Linked DNA regions of Homo sapiens: region 2 is linked to region 1. Evidence: promoter capture Hi-C in 16 types of primary human blood cells and fetal thymus (Javierre and others, 2016). All regions are on one chromosome and are shown on one strand. The core of a region is centred on a gene start or on the middle of the fragment in contact, and the rest is flanking DNA. Distances in the headings are between cores, read along the strand shown.

Region 1 (6,022 bases), core at 122-2,621:
TTTTGCTTTTGTTTGAGACAGGGTCTAGCTCTGTCACCCAGGCTGGAGTGCAATGGCTTGATTCGGCTCACTGCAGCCTCAGCCTCCTAAGTAGCTGGGACTACAGGCTTGCATCATCACACCTAACTAATTTTTTAATTTTATTTTTAGTAGAGACGAGGTCTTACTACATTGTCCAGGTTGGTCTCGAACTCCTGAGCTCAAGCAATCCTCCTGCCTCAGCCTCCTAAAGTGCTGTGATTAGAGATGTGAGCCACTCCACCCAGTCCTTATTTTTTGCTATTTACATTCCCTCCCCTAAATCATGTACTCGAGAGCAGGGACTATGTCAGCACCCGGTTCCCTATCCAGTTATTGTAAGGATTCAATAAAAATTTGCTGAATTCATTAAAAAGAAAATAGGTCTTCCATCTCCACCCACTCCTCTACTAACCCTTTTCCCAAAAGTTCTCGATGGTTCCCACACCAAGTTACCCCAGTTCAGTTCTTCAGTCTCCTGCAGACATTCCTGAGTCCCATTCCCAGCCACTCACTCTCCATCATCTGCCCTGGAAACTTCCCACCCACAGGCCGGGCTCGGTGGCTCGCGCCTGTAATCCCAGCACTTAGGGAGGCCGAGACGGAATGAGTGCTTGAACCCAGGAGTTTAAGCAACTATAGCGAGACCCCTGTCTCTACAAAATATACAAAAAAATCAGCCGGGCGTGGTTGCACGTGCGCCTGTGGTCCCAGCTACTCGGGAGGCTGAGGCAGGAGAATCAACTGAGCCGGGGAGGTGGATGCTGCAGTGAGCCATGATCACGCCACTGCACTCCAGCCTGGGCGACAGAGCAAGACCGTGTCAAACAACAACAAAAAAACTTCCAGCCGCAGGAGTCCCATTAACGTACCCATTTAGTCATTCACTCGTCAAAAGTCCCGTACGTGCCCATTTCTCAGCCCTACTCCCTAAACCCCTAAACCCAACCTTCTCGCCCCAAGATGAGCTGCTGAAAATCCTTCACGCCACTGCTCGGCCCCATAAGGCCTATCCAGCCCGTTCCGTTTGAACCCCATACATCCCTTCGTCCTCGGGACCCCCCTCCAGCCCTCCTCAAGCGCCCCTCGTCAGTCTGGCCTCCACGCCCCGTCCCCTCAGCCCGCCAACCTCACTGCCACGACCCTGCGTGGCCCCTGCCGAGCCCGCGGGCAGCACCTGGCCTGTGCCTCGTCCAGGCTCTGGTCGGTGATGGCCATGATCTGCTGCAGGACGTCGCTCGTGTCGAGGCGCCGCGGGGCGGGGGGCGATGGCGCGGGGCGCGGCGGGGCGGCCATGAGCGGCAGGGCCGGGCGGGCGCTGTGAGGGTGCCGTCGAGCCTGGAGCACTACCACTGGCGCCGCAGCCAACCGCCGCTGCCTGAGCGCCGCGCCCGCTCTCGCTCGCGCCTAAGCCACGCCCACCGCCGCTATCGCCAGCCAACCCGTGTATTGCACCGCCTACAGACACGCCCCTTCATCTCCGTCAGCCAACCGGCGCCACGCACCGCCCCCGGGACTCGCCCCGAACTTCCCCCTCTCCGGGCTTGGACTGGGTTTGGGGTTGCCGAGGCAACGGCACTTCTCATAAGCGCCCTCCTTCCCCTTGAGAGAGGGCAGCGCTGGCTCCGCTCCAGCCAGAGGCCCCCATCCCTCACATCTCGCGCGGTGCACGCCTCCTTCAGCCCCACTCGCATCTCCTCAGAGTTCCTGCTCCTCCTCAGGGCCCCCTTCTCCTCAAAGCCCTCGGTCCTCAGAGACCCTCACTCCCCAGAGCACCCCAACTCTTCCTCCAAGCCACCCCCTCCTCCTCAGAACCCCACACCTCTTATAGCTTGATCGACAGCCCCCATTCATTTCCAGAAGCCCCAAGCCCCAGACCCCTGCTCAGTCCCCCTAATGCTCCCTGCATCCTCAGCCCCATCAGGTGGGCCACTGGGGCCCCTGGCTCTTCCTCTAGAGCTTTCCACGCCCCGTTCACCTGGCTAAGGCGGGGCGCAGGCGTGCGTGGTTGATGGCAACGAGGAGGTCAGAACGCAGCGCTTTTCTCCACTGCAGAAATCAATTCCAGTCACCTTTCAAGGTCCAGCTGAAGAGTGACCTCGCTTGTTTATTCATCTTCGCAGATTACAGTTCTGGGCATAGAAAATGCTACCACGTGGTTACCGAATGAAGGAAGGATGTTTACTGAGAGACTCCCCTGCAGTGTACCCCAAATCAGAGCGAATCCTCACATCTTTGTTTCTAGTCCTTAGGACACAGCATCGAAGGCTCCTAGTGCACAAGAAAAGGAACTGGGCGGTGGCTCATGCCTGTAATCCTAGCACTTTGGGCGGCAGAGGCGGGAGGATCACTTGAGCACGGGAGTTTGAGACCAGCTTGGGCAACATAGTGAGACCCCGTGGTGGTGCACGCCTGTGGTCCCAGCTATTTGGGACTTGAGAGGCTGAAGTGGGAGGATCACTTGGGCCTGGGAATTTGAGGCTGCAGTGAGCCATGATTGCACCACTGCACTGCAGCCTGGTTGACGGAGACCAGGTCTCAAAAAAAAAAAAAAAAAAAAAAAGTAATGGCCTGGACATGAATCTCTTCTCCAAAGTCACAGAACCTCCTGGAGCCTATTTGCTATGAGGACAGTCTCCAGATGTGGGCTCAGTAAAAGGTCCTCAGCCTGCTGGCTGGGAGCCCTTCCAGGGTGGGGCCCACGTTCTCTCCATTGCTGCTGGGGAGGAAATTCAAACACCATCTGGTATGGCTGGATTGGAGAGCGTCGGGAGACTCCAAAGGGGACGGCAGGGAGTGAAAAATGAAAGACATTGACCGAGTGTCTGGACAATAGGGAAAGCTCTCTGATGAAGGAAACCGACACTTGGCTCCAATGACAGAAAGTAATAGATTGCATGGGAGCCACGGAGACCAGTGCCTGTTCAAAAGGTCACCCACAAGCACAGCACTGCCCAGGAGGCCTGAACAGTAGTGGCCTTCAGGCTGGGTGCAGTGGCTGACACCTATGATCCCAACACTTTGGGAGTCTGAGGTGGGAGATTACTTGAGCCCAGGAGTTCAAGACCAGTCTGGGGAACATAGTGAGACCCCATCTCTACAAAAATAAAAATTAAAAAAATAGCTAAATTAGCTGGTCATGGTCCCAGCTACTTGGGAGGCTGAGGCGGGAGGATAAGTTGGGCTCAGGAGGTCGAGGCTACAGTGAGCTGTGTTTGTGCCACTGCACTCCAGCCTGGGTGAGAGAGCAAAACCTGCCCCCAACCCCAACAAAGTAGTATCCTTCAGAGAACTTGGAGGGGTGGGCACTGAAAGCTTCAGGGACCAGCAGAGACAAAAATTTGAAGCCACTTGGTGGAGACGGGAGATCGACAAGAGGAAATGGTCTCGAAGGAGACCCACGGGGTGCAGGTTAAAACCTGGAGGAGCTGATGTGAACAGCCAGCTCAGAGCGCCTGAGACAGAGTTGCCTTTTTTTTTTTTTTTTTTTTTTAGACAGAAATCTTACTCTGTTGCCCAGGCTGGAGTGTAGTGGCGTGACCTTGGCTCACTGCAACCTCCACCTCCTGGGTTCAAGCACTTCTCCTGCCTTAGCCTCCTCCTGAGTAGCTTACAGGCACCCACCACCACGCCCGGCTAATTTTTGCATTTTTAGTAGAAATGAGGTTTCACCATGTTGGCCAGGCTAGTTTCAAACTTCTGACCTCAGGTGATCTGCCTGCCTCGGCCGCCCAAAGTGCTGGGATTACAGGTATGAGCCACCTCACCCGTCCCACTGTTGCCATTTGGAGGTCATCAGGGGTCTCTACTGCATAGAAATTAGTTGGCAGCCTTGGCACTCAAAGTGCTCGGCCAGGGCCATTTAATATAGAAGGACCTGGGAGTTTTGGGTTCTTTGACAATGCATATTTCAGTGGTTTAAGAATTTGGCACAGGTGGCTGGGCATGGCGGCTCACATCTCTGAGTGACCTGGGTTCAAATTCTAGCTGTTATTCAGCATGGGATTCAAAAGTAGGGACATAACCCCACCTCCTCACTGGTGAGGTGGGAGCAGAGAATGACATCCTGGCACACACTGTGCCTTGGAGGGGGCCTCCCTGAGCATCTCAGAGGGGGCTCATGATGGATCTGGCACTCATGGGTTGGGTGCTGTGGGGTGAGGTAGGGAAAGCCCAGCTGAGCTTGGGACCAACCCTGGGCTTCGTGGGAATCTGAAGTCCCTTTCCTAGGGGCCTCTCTGGTCCCTCGGGGCCTGTATGTGCCATCTCCAAGCTGTGTTTACCATGGGCCAGATCACAACCTGTCTGAATCAGTGTTCTCACATAAAAATCAGAAAGACTGATCCCAGCACTTTGGGAGGCCAAAGCAGGCGGATCATGAGGTCAGGAGTTCAAGACCAGCCTGGCCAATATGGTGAAATCCCATCTCTATTAAAATACAAAAAATTAGCCAGACATGGTGGTGCATGCCTGTAGTCCCAGCTACTTGGGAGGCTGAGGCAGAAGAATCGCTTGAACCTGGAGGGGGCGGAGGTTGCAGTGAGCTGAGATCATGTGAGACTCTGTCTCAAAAAAAAAAAAAAAAAAAAAAGGCCAGGCATGGCGGCTCACGCCTATAGTCCCAGCACTTTGAGAGGCTGAGGCGGGCGGCTCACCTGAGGTCAGGAGTTCGAGACCAGCCTGGCCAACATGGTGAAACCCCATCTCTACTAAAAATAAAAAATTTAGCTGGGTGTGGTGGCATATCCCTGTAATCCCAGCTACCCGGGAGGCTGATGCAGGAGAATCACTTGAACCTGGGAGGCAGAGGTTGCAGTGAGCTGAGATCACGTCATTGCAGTCCAGCCTGGGAAACAGAGCAAGACTCCGTCTCAAAAAAAAAAAAAAAAAAAAGCCCAGCACAGTGGCTCATGCCTGTAATCCCAGCACTTTGAGAGGCCGAGGCGGGTGGATCACAAGGTCGGGAGTTCAAGATAAGCCTGGCCAAGATGGTGAAACCCCATCTCTAACAAAAATACAAAAATTAGCCGGGCACGGTGGCAGGTGCCTGTAATCGCAACTACTTGGGAGGCTGAGGCAGGAGAATCGCTTGAAACCCGGGGGCGGAGGTTGCAGCGAGCCGAGATTGCACCACTACACTCCAGCCTGGAGGACAGAGTGACACTCCATCACAAAAAAATAAAAAATTTAAAAAAAAAAGCACCTAAAGTGTTTACCAGTATGCCAGGCACATCAGAAGAGCTTGAGAAATGGTCATGCTCAAATCCTGCATCCCACTACCTGAACCCCACAACCTGTGGCTGGAAGTATGAATACAGGTGGTGGGGAATGGGATAGAAACGGCTGGGCACGTGACCTTGAACCATCAGGGCTCAAACAAAAGGGCAGTGGGGAGGGAGGGGGCTCATAGGGTCCAGACACTACTCTGAGCTGCAGAGAAAGACAGGGAGACAGGCAGTGAGATGGAGGCAGAGCAACAGATGGGGGAAACAAAGAACAGAAGCAGAGAGAAACAGATTCAAGACCCCAGTAAGAGAGAGGGGCCAGGCGTGGTGGCTCATGCCTATAATCCCAGCACTTTGGGAGGCCAAGGTGGGTAGGTGGATCGCTTGAGGTCAAGAGTTCGAGACCAGCCTGACTAACATGGTGGGACCCCATCTCTACTAAAAATATAAAGATTAGTCAGGCACGCGGTAGCTCACACCTGTAATCCCAGTACTTTGGGAAGCTGAGGTGGGTGGATCATTCAAGGTCAGGAGTTTGAGACGAGCCTGGCCAACATTGGTGAAACCTCATCTCTACTATAATACAAAAATTAGCCGAGTGTAGTGGCAGATGCCTATAACCCAGCTATTCGGGAAGCTGAGGCAGGAGAATCGCTTGAACCCAGGAGGCAGAAGTTGCAGTAACCTGAGATCAAGCCACTGCACTCCAGCCTGGGTGACAGAGCGAGACTCCCTCTCAAAGATAAACAAACAAATAAATAAATAATAAAAATAAAAAT
Region 2 (5,901 bases), core at 2,524-5,023, 1.5 Mb after region 1:
ACTACAGGCGCCTGCCACGGCGCCCGGCTAATTTTTTGTATTTTTAGTAGAGGCTTGTTTTATAATTTATAATTTAGTGTTAGCCAGGATGGTCTCGATCTCCTGACCTCGTGATCTACCCGCCTCGGCCTCCCAAAGTGCTGGGATTACAGGCGTGAGCCACCGCCCCCGGCGGATAATTTTTTATAATAAAAATGTTCTTTATGTTTGCCCCTTACCATTTTTTTTTTTTTTTTTTTTTGAGATGAAGTTTTTGCTCTTGTTGCCCAGGCTGGAGTGCAGTGGCGCGATCTCGGCTCACCACAACCTCCACCTCCCAGGTTCAAGCGATTCTCTTGCCTCGGCCTCCTGAGTAGCTGGGATTACAGGAATGCGCCACCACGTGCGGCTAATTTTGTATTTTTAGTAGACGGGGTTTCTCCATGTTGGTCAGGCTAGTCTTGAACTCCTGACCTCAGGTGATCCACCCGCCTCAGCCTCCCAAAGTGTTGGGATTACAGGCGTGAGCCACTGTGCCCAGCTGCCTATACCATTTTCTTTGAAAGTTGAAGTTTTAACTCCCTAATTAGGAAACATATTCATAAATGTGACTTGTAAATACTGAAATTTGTGTTTGCTTTTTCTGCCTTCAGTAGAAATGGTGTTTTCTAGCATCTATGTCTTTTTAAAATAAAAGAGAGGATGGAAGCAGAATAGGTTGAAAATGCTATTAACAAAATGATGTTGACAGAGATGATCTATCTGGTCTACCAGGGCATAAAAATTTCAAAAATCATAATCAGTACAAAACCTCTATGTCCGTTAATATTACAGAATATTGCTTGTGTTAAAATCATTTATGTTGGCCGGGCGCAGTGGCTCACGCCTGTAATCCCAGCACTTTGGGAGGCCGAGGCAGGCAGATCACGAGGTCAAGAGATCGAGACCATCCTGGCCAACATTGTGAAACCCCGTCTCTACTAAAAATACAAAAAAAAATTAGCTGGGCGTGGTGGCGCGTGCCCATAGTTCCAGCTACTTTGGAGGCTGAAGCAGGAGAATCGCTTGAACCTGGGAGGCGGAGGTTGCAGTGAGCCGAGATCGAGCCACTGCACTCCAGCCTGGGTGACAGAGCGAGACTCCGTCTCAAAAAAAAAAAAAAAAAAAAAAAAATTATGTTAAAAACTCTGCCTCGCCGAGTGCGGTGGCTCACGCCTGTAATCCCAACATTTTGGGACGCCAAAGCAGGCGGATAACGAGGTCAGCAGTTAGAGACCAGCCTGGCCAACATGGTGAAACCCCGTCTCTACTAAAAAGACAAAAAAGTAGCCGGGCGTTGTGGCGGGCGCCTGTAGTCCCAGCTACTCCGGAGGCTCAGGCAGGAGAATGGCGTGAACCCGGGAGGCGGAGCTTGCAGTGAGCTGAGATTGTGCCACTGCACTCCAGCGTGGGTGAGAGAGCGAGACTCCGTCTCAAAACAAACAAACAAACAAACAAAAAACAAAACAAAAAAACTCTGCCTCTCATGCATTTAGTAGAGATAAAGTCAGAGGGCAGAACCCTCCGCTGATCCTTATCAGGACACCTGAAGTACAGATGATATATTTCTGTTTTCTCTCAAACTCCATATTGGATACAGTTATTCTGCTTCTAATCCATATTATTACAGTAATGCACAGACACGGGATCATAAAAGAACTTGCAAGCTTTTTAAAAAAGTGTTATATTTTACACATGTGTGTATGTATTTGTAGACAGCTCTGTCATCTTGGCCAGAGTGCAGCTCAATCAAACCTCAAAATTCTTAGCTCTCAGCCTCCTTGGTAAATGGGACTTCACGTACACACCACTACAGTGGCTAATTAATTTTTTTTTTTTTTTTTTTTTTTTGTAGAGATGGGGTCTTATTATGTTGCCCAGGCAGCTCTTTTTTTTTTTTTTTTTTTTTTTGAGACAGAGTCTCCCTCTGTCGCCAGGCTGGAGTGCAGTGGCGCGATCTCGGCTCACTGTAACCTCCGCCTCCCGGGTTCAAACGATTCTCCTGCCTCGGCCCCCCGAGTAGCTGGGAATACAGGCGTGCGGCATCACACCCAGGTAAGTTTTTGTATTTTTGGTAGAGACAGGGTTTCACCTTGTTAGCCAGGATGGTCTCGGACTCCTGACCTCTTGATCCACCCACCTCGGACTCCCAAAGTGCTGGGATTGCAGGCGTGAGCCACCGTGCCTGGGCGATTCTATTTTATTCGTTGATCTTTTGTGGTGCTTTTACAATTTTACATCTACATATTATAAATCCAGTAACAAAGAGTCATAATTGTTGCTTTTAATAGTGATAGGTTGCTTTAAAACTGAAGGGTACAATTTAGTCAGATACTTTGGTGCTATGCAAATACAATGCTTATTTTTTAAGTGTTATTTACAATTTTTACACTCCTCAGTTAACCTTGGATACAATAATAACTGGTGGTTTTGTGATGGTTTCTTTAGCATTTTATCTATGTTGATTAGTATTTGGAATTCTGTAAAAAAAAATTTCCCTATCCTTTTTTCTTTTTTATTTATTTAAAGTTTTTTGTGTATCAGTGTAAATGCATGGGTATTTATTTATTTGACTTGATTTATTTTATAGGTCAGTGCTCTAATTATTCATTTGGATGCTAACATTGTTCCAGGATGGACCATTGGGAGTTCTTTCAGGCTGGCTCCCTTTGACATGTTCCCATCATTTTTTAAAATTAAAAAAAAAGAAAGAAAAAACATTTTGAGGCTGGGTGCGGTGGCTCACGCCTGTAATCCCAACACTTTGGGAGGCCAAAGCGGGCAGATCACCTGAGGTCAGGAGTTCAGGACCAGCCTGGCCAACATGGTGAAACCCCGTGTCTACTAAAAATACAAAAAATTAGCCGAGCATGGTGGCGCGCGCCTGTGATCTCATCCAGCAGTGCTTTACTTGTAATTATTTTATTCCTGCTGCCGTCTCCTCTTTCTTTGGCCACTATCTGTTCCACCCCCGGAACGGAAGAGAGATGTTGGTAGGGAGAGGCTCTTCCTTCACCTCTGGCAGAAAAGGTTTGCTTGGGCCCTTCACACCGCTGACATCAGAGCTGCACTTCAATGTGGCAGTTATTGGCCATGTGTGGCGCCTGGTCTGAAGTGCGATGCTAGAAAGGTAAAATACAGAGTTAGTTTCAAAGATTTAGTTCCAAATATTTATATACTTTATTAATAATTACATATTTCTCACACATTAAAATGAAAATTTTTTTGATATATTGGGTTAATTAAATTGTTACAATCAATTCAACCTGTTCTTGTTTCTTTTTCAAGTTTGGCTACTAGAAAACTTAAAATTCACATATGGCTCACATTTTATTTCAGAGGATTACCTCCTTTCTAAAATCTCAGCCTGCCTGCTCAAAGACCAGAAAGAAGCCAGGAAGGTCATAAAATCTGAAATTTTAAAATAATTGTTATTATAAAATTATATTTTTTCCTTTGTGAAGAGCCATATATTATTTATAAATGCATATGACTTTACACACAAGTTTAAAGGCAAATTCCCTCTGGGGTGGGCCTGGCTCAGCTCTGGGAGGAAGCCCTGCCTGAGAAGGCTGCAGCCTAGGCTGTCACCCTTTCTTCACTCAGCCCAGCAACTGATCACATCTTCTGTCACTCAGGGCACGAGAAGGTGGGGTTTTAAAAGTTATCCAATCAGCGACGCTGGGTTGGGAACCGTCCAATCAGGCCTGCAGCTGGAGCGGACAGGACGGCTTCGGGGATGTGGCGGGGCCTTTGTCTCTCGCTGCAGCTGGAGCTGCAGGTCTCGCCTTCACTGCCCTGTGTCCTCTGCTCGCAGAGGCCCAGCCTCTGTGGCCCTGTGACCTGCAGGTATTGAGAGATCCACAGCTAAGACGCCAGGTACCCCGGAAGCCTAGAAATGGTGAGAGTGCCGGGTCCGACATCCCGAGAGAGGGGAAGGGGCGGGTTGTAAGCGGTGGGAAGTGGCTGTGGTGGGACTTAGGCCTCCCCGCAGTCAACTCTACAATCTGCGCCCGGAGTTCTCCTTGCTCAGCTCGGCCTCAGTCCCCTTCAGCCATAAGATGGCGGCTGCGCTGACTGCGGGATCCCGGGCGTCCTGTCTTTTCCCTGCGCAGTGACTGGGCCCTGACCTGGAGTCCTCTCAGGGCAGCTCTGGACCCTCAGCGGCGCGTCTCTCCCGGATTGTGCAGGGACCACTGGAGGGTCCCAGGGGTAGAATCCTGACTCGGGGTGCGGGTTTATGAATGGGTCCGTGGGGTTCCAGTTCCTCTTCTGTTGAAAATGTATGGGAGTCACCGTTAAAACACTAAAGCATTTAATCAAAGCGTGATTCAAAAATTGTGGAGCACCCAGCTGTGGTTTGTAATTTATGGTTTATGGGCGGGGCTTGAAGTAAAGACTTTTATAAACAGCATGATGAAGAAAACCAAATTCAGTAATTGGTTAGGTTCAGATACATAGTTTCTTAATTTGTAAAATAAAGGTGAAAATTTCCTGGTTATGTAATTAGATGTTAATTGGCAGTTTATAGTTGGTTAAGGATGAATTTTGTTTCTCTCAATGTAGTAATTTACTAAAAATGCACCTCAGTTAGATTTTTTTTTTTTAAGATGGAGTTTCGCTCTTGTTGCCCAGGCTGGAGTGCAATGGGGCGATCTTGTCTCACCGTAACCTCTGCCTCCCGGGTTCAAGCGATCCAATGCTTCAGCCTCCCAGGTAGCTGGGATTACAGGCATGCGCCACCACGCCCGTCTAATTTTGTGGTTTTAGTAGAGACGGGTTTCTGCATGTTGGTCAGGCTGGTCTCGAACTCCCGACCTCAGGTGATCTGCCCTCCACGGCCTCCCCAAAGTGCTGGGATTACAGGCGTGAGCCACCGCGCCCAGCCAGATTTTTTTAAAAGTAGGAATCCAGGGACTAGAGACACCTCAGTCTAATTTCCCGCCGCTTAATTATTTTCACACTCCATGGGGAACTGATTTTCTGGTGCATTTTTCAACTGTGTCCCAAGCACTGTCTTAAATCTAACCTCCCGTCCCCCATATCTCCAGCCTCACTCTGGCTTGCAGTAAGATATTAAATTTCCAGTTCCTCCTGGCATTCCCTAATGCCAGCTTTTCCTCCCTAATTCACGTTATCACCTGTTTGTCTTTTAGTGTACTTTTGTATACCATATTTTAATTAATTATTTTTTGACAAAGCTTTAAATGACGCTTTTTAAAAGGTTTGTTACCTGTTTGTAACTTTCCCATGAGAAGAAAGCAAAGAATAATCCCCTGACACTGTATTGTAAAATTTCTCTGTGCCTCTTCTCCTTGTATCTTCTCTAGGTACAAAGATCTTGTCAGAATGTTTTTGGGTCAAGGTATTCCTTTGAAACCTTTATGAGGTGATGTGTCCTCAGCCACCCTTTAGTTTTTTTCTGGTCGTGGGTTTCAGTACTGTCTGGGGATCAACCAAGATATCCACCATGGTTATGTCAGCTAAAGTGCCTAGTGAATATCAGCTTCTGGTTTATTTTCTTCCATAGGGCGACCTGAGGTCTGGAGTGTATCCTCTCAAGGGAGCAAGTGGATCCCTGGGGCAGAGAGGAAGCTTCTAGTGTACTCTTACTTTGAAAAGGTAATCAGATGCTGGTACTGAGGGGAAAACACAGAAATAACATCTGCCTCCTGGATTGTCTAAGGGGTAGAAATATAATGAAATAAATGTAGTGAAAGAAAAAATAGTGTTAAAAAGAAAAAAAAATTGTGACAGAAAAAATAGTATCCCAAAAGACCAAAAAAGAAAAAAAAAATCAAGCAAACAAACAAAAAACACAAAAAACCTGACTCCAGCAGTCAGGATTTTTTCCAGCAGTTCCATTAGCACTTAAGTTTTCCC

Evidence for each region. Contacts are between HindIII fragments. The CHiCAGO score rates a contact against its expected background, and 5 or more counts as called.
Region 2: the fragment with the promoter of ZNF714 here is called in contact with the fragment with the promoter of PBX4 in region 1 in 1 of 17 cell types (M0 macrophages); the score reaches 5.1 in M0 macrophages.

Annotation. Positions count from the first base shown.
Region 1 is chr19:19,617,316-19,623,337 of GRCh38, forward strand. It overlaps PBX4 (PBX homeobox 4), which reads right to left and starts at 1,372. Exons shown (of 8, transcript NM_025245.3): 1 at 1,196-1,372. The coding sequence starts at 1,314. RefSeq lists a silencer at 1,154-1,363. The HindIII fragment of the contact is 7,939 bases long and covers 1-3,331 here.
Region 2 is chr19:21,078,430-21,084,330 of GRCh38, forward strand. ZNF714 (zinc finger protein 714) reads left to right here and starts at 3,774. Exons shown (of 5, transcript NM_182515.4): 1 at 3,774-3,919; 2 at 5,549-5,640. RefSeq lists an enhancer at 4,113-4,262. The HindIII fragment of the contact is 3,534 bases long and covers 1,684-5,217 here.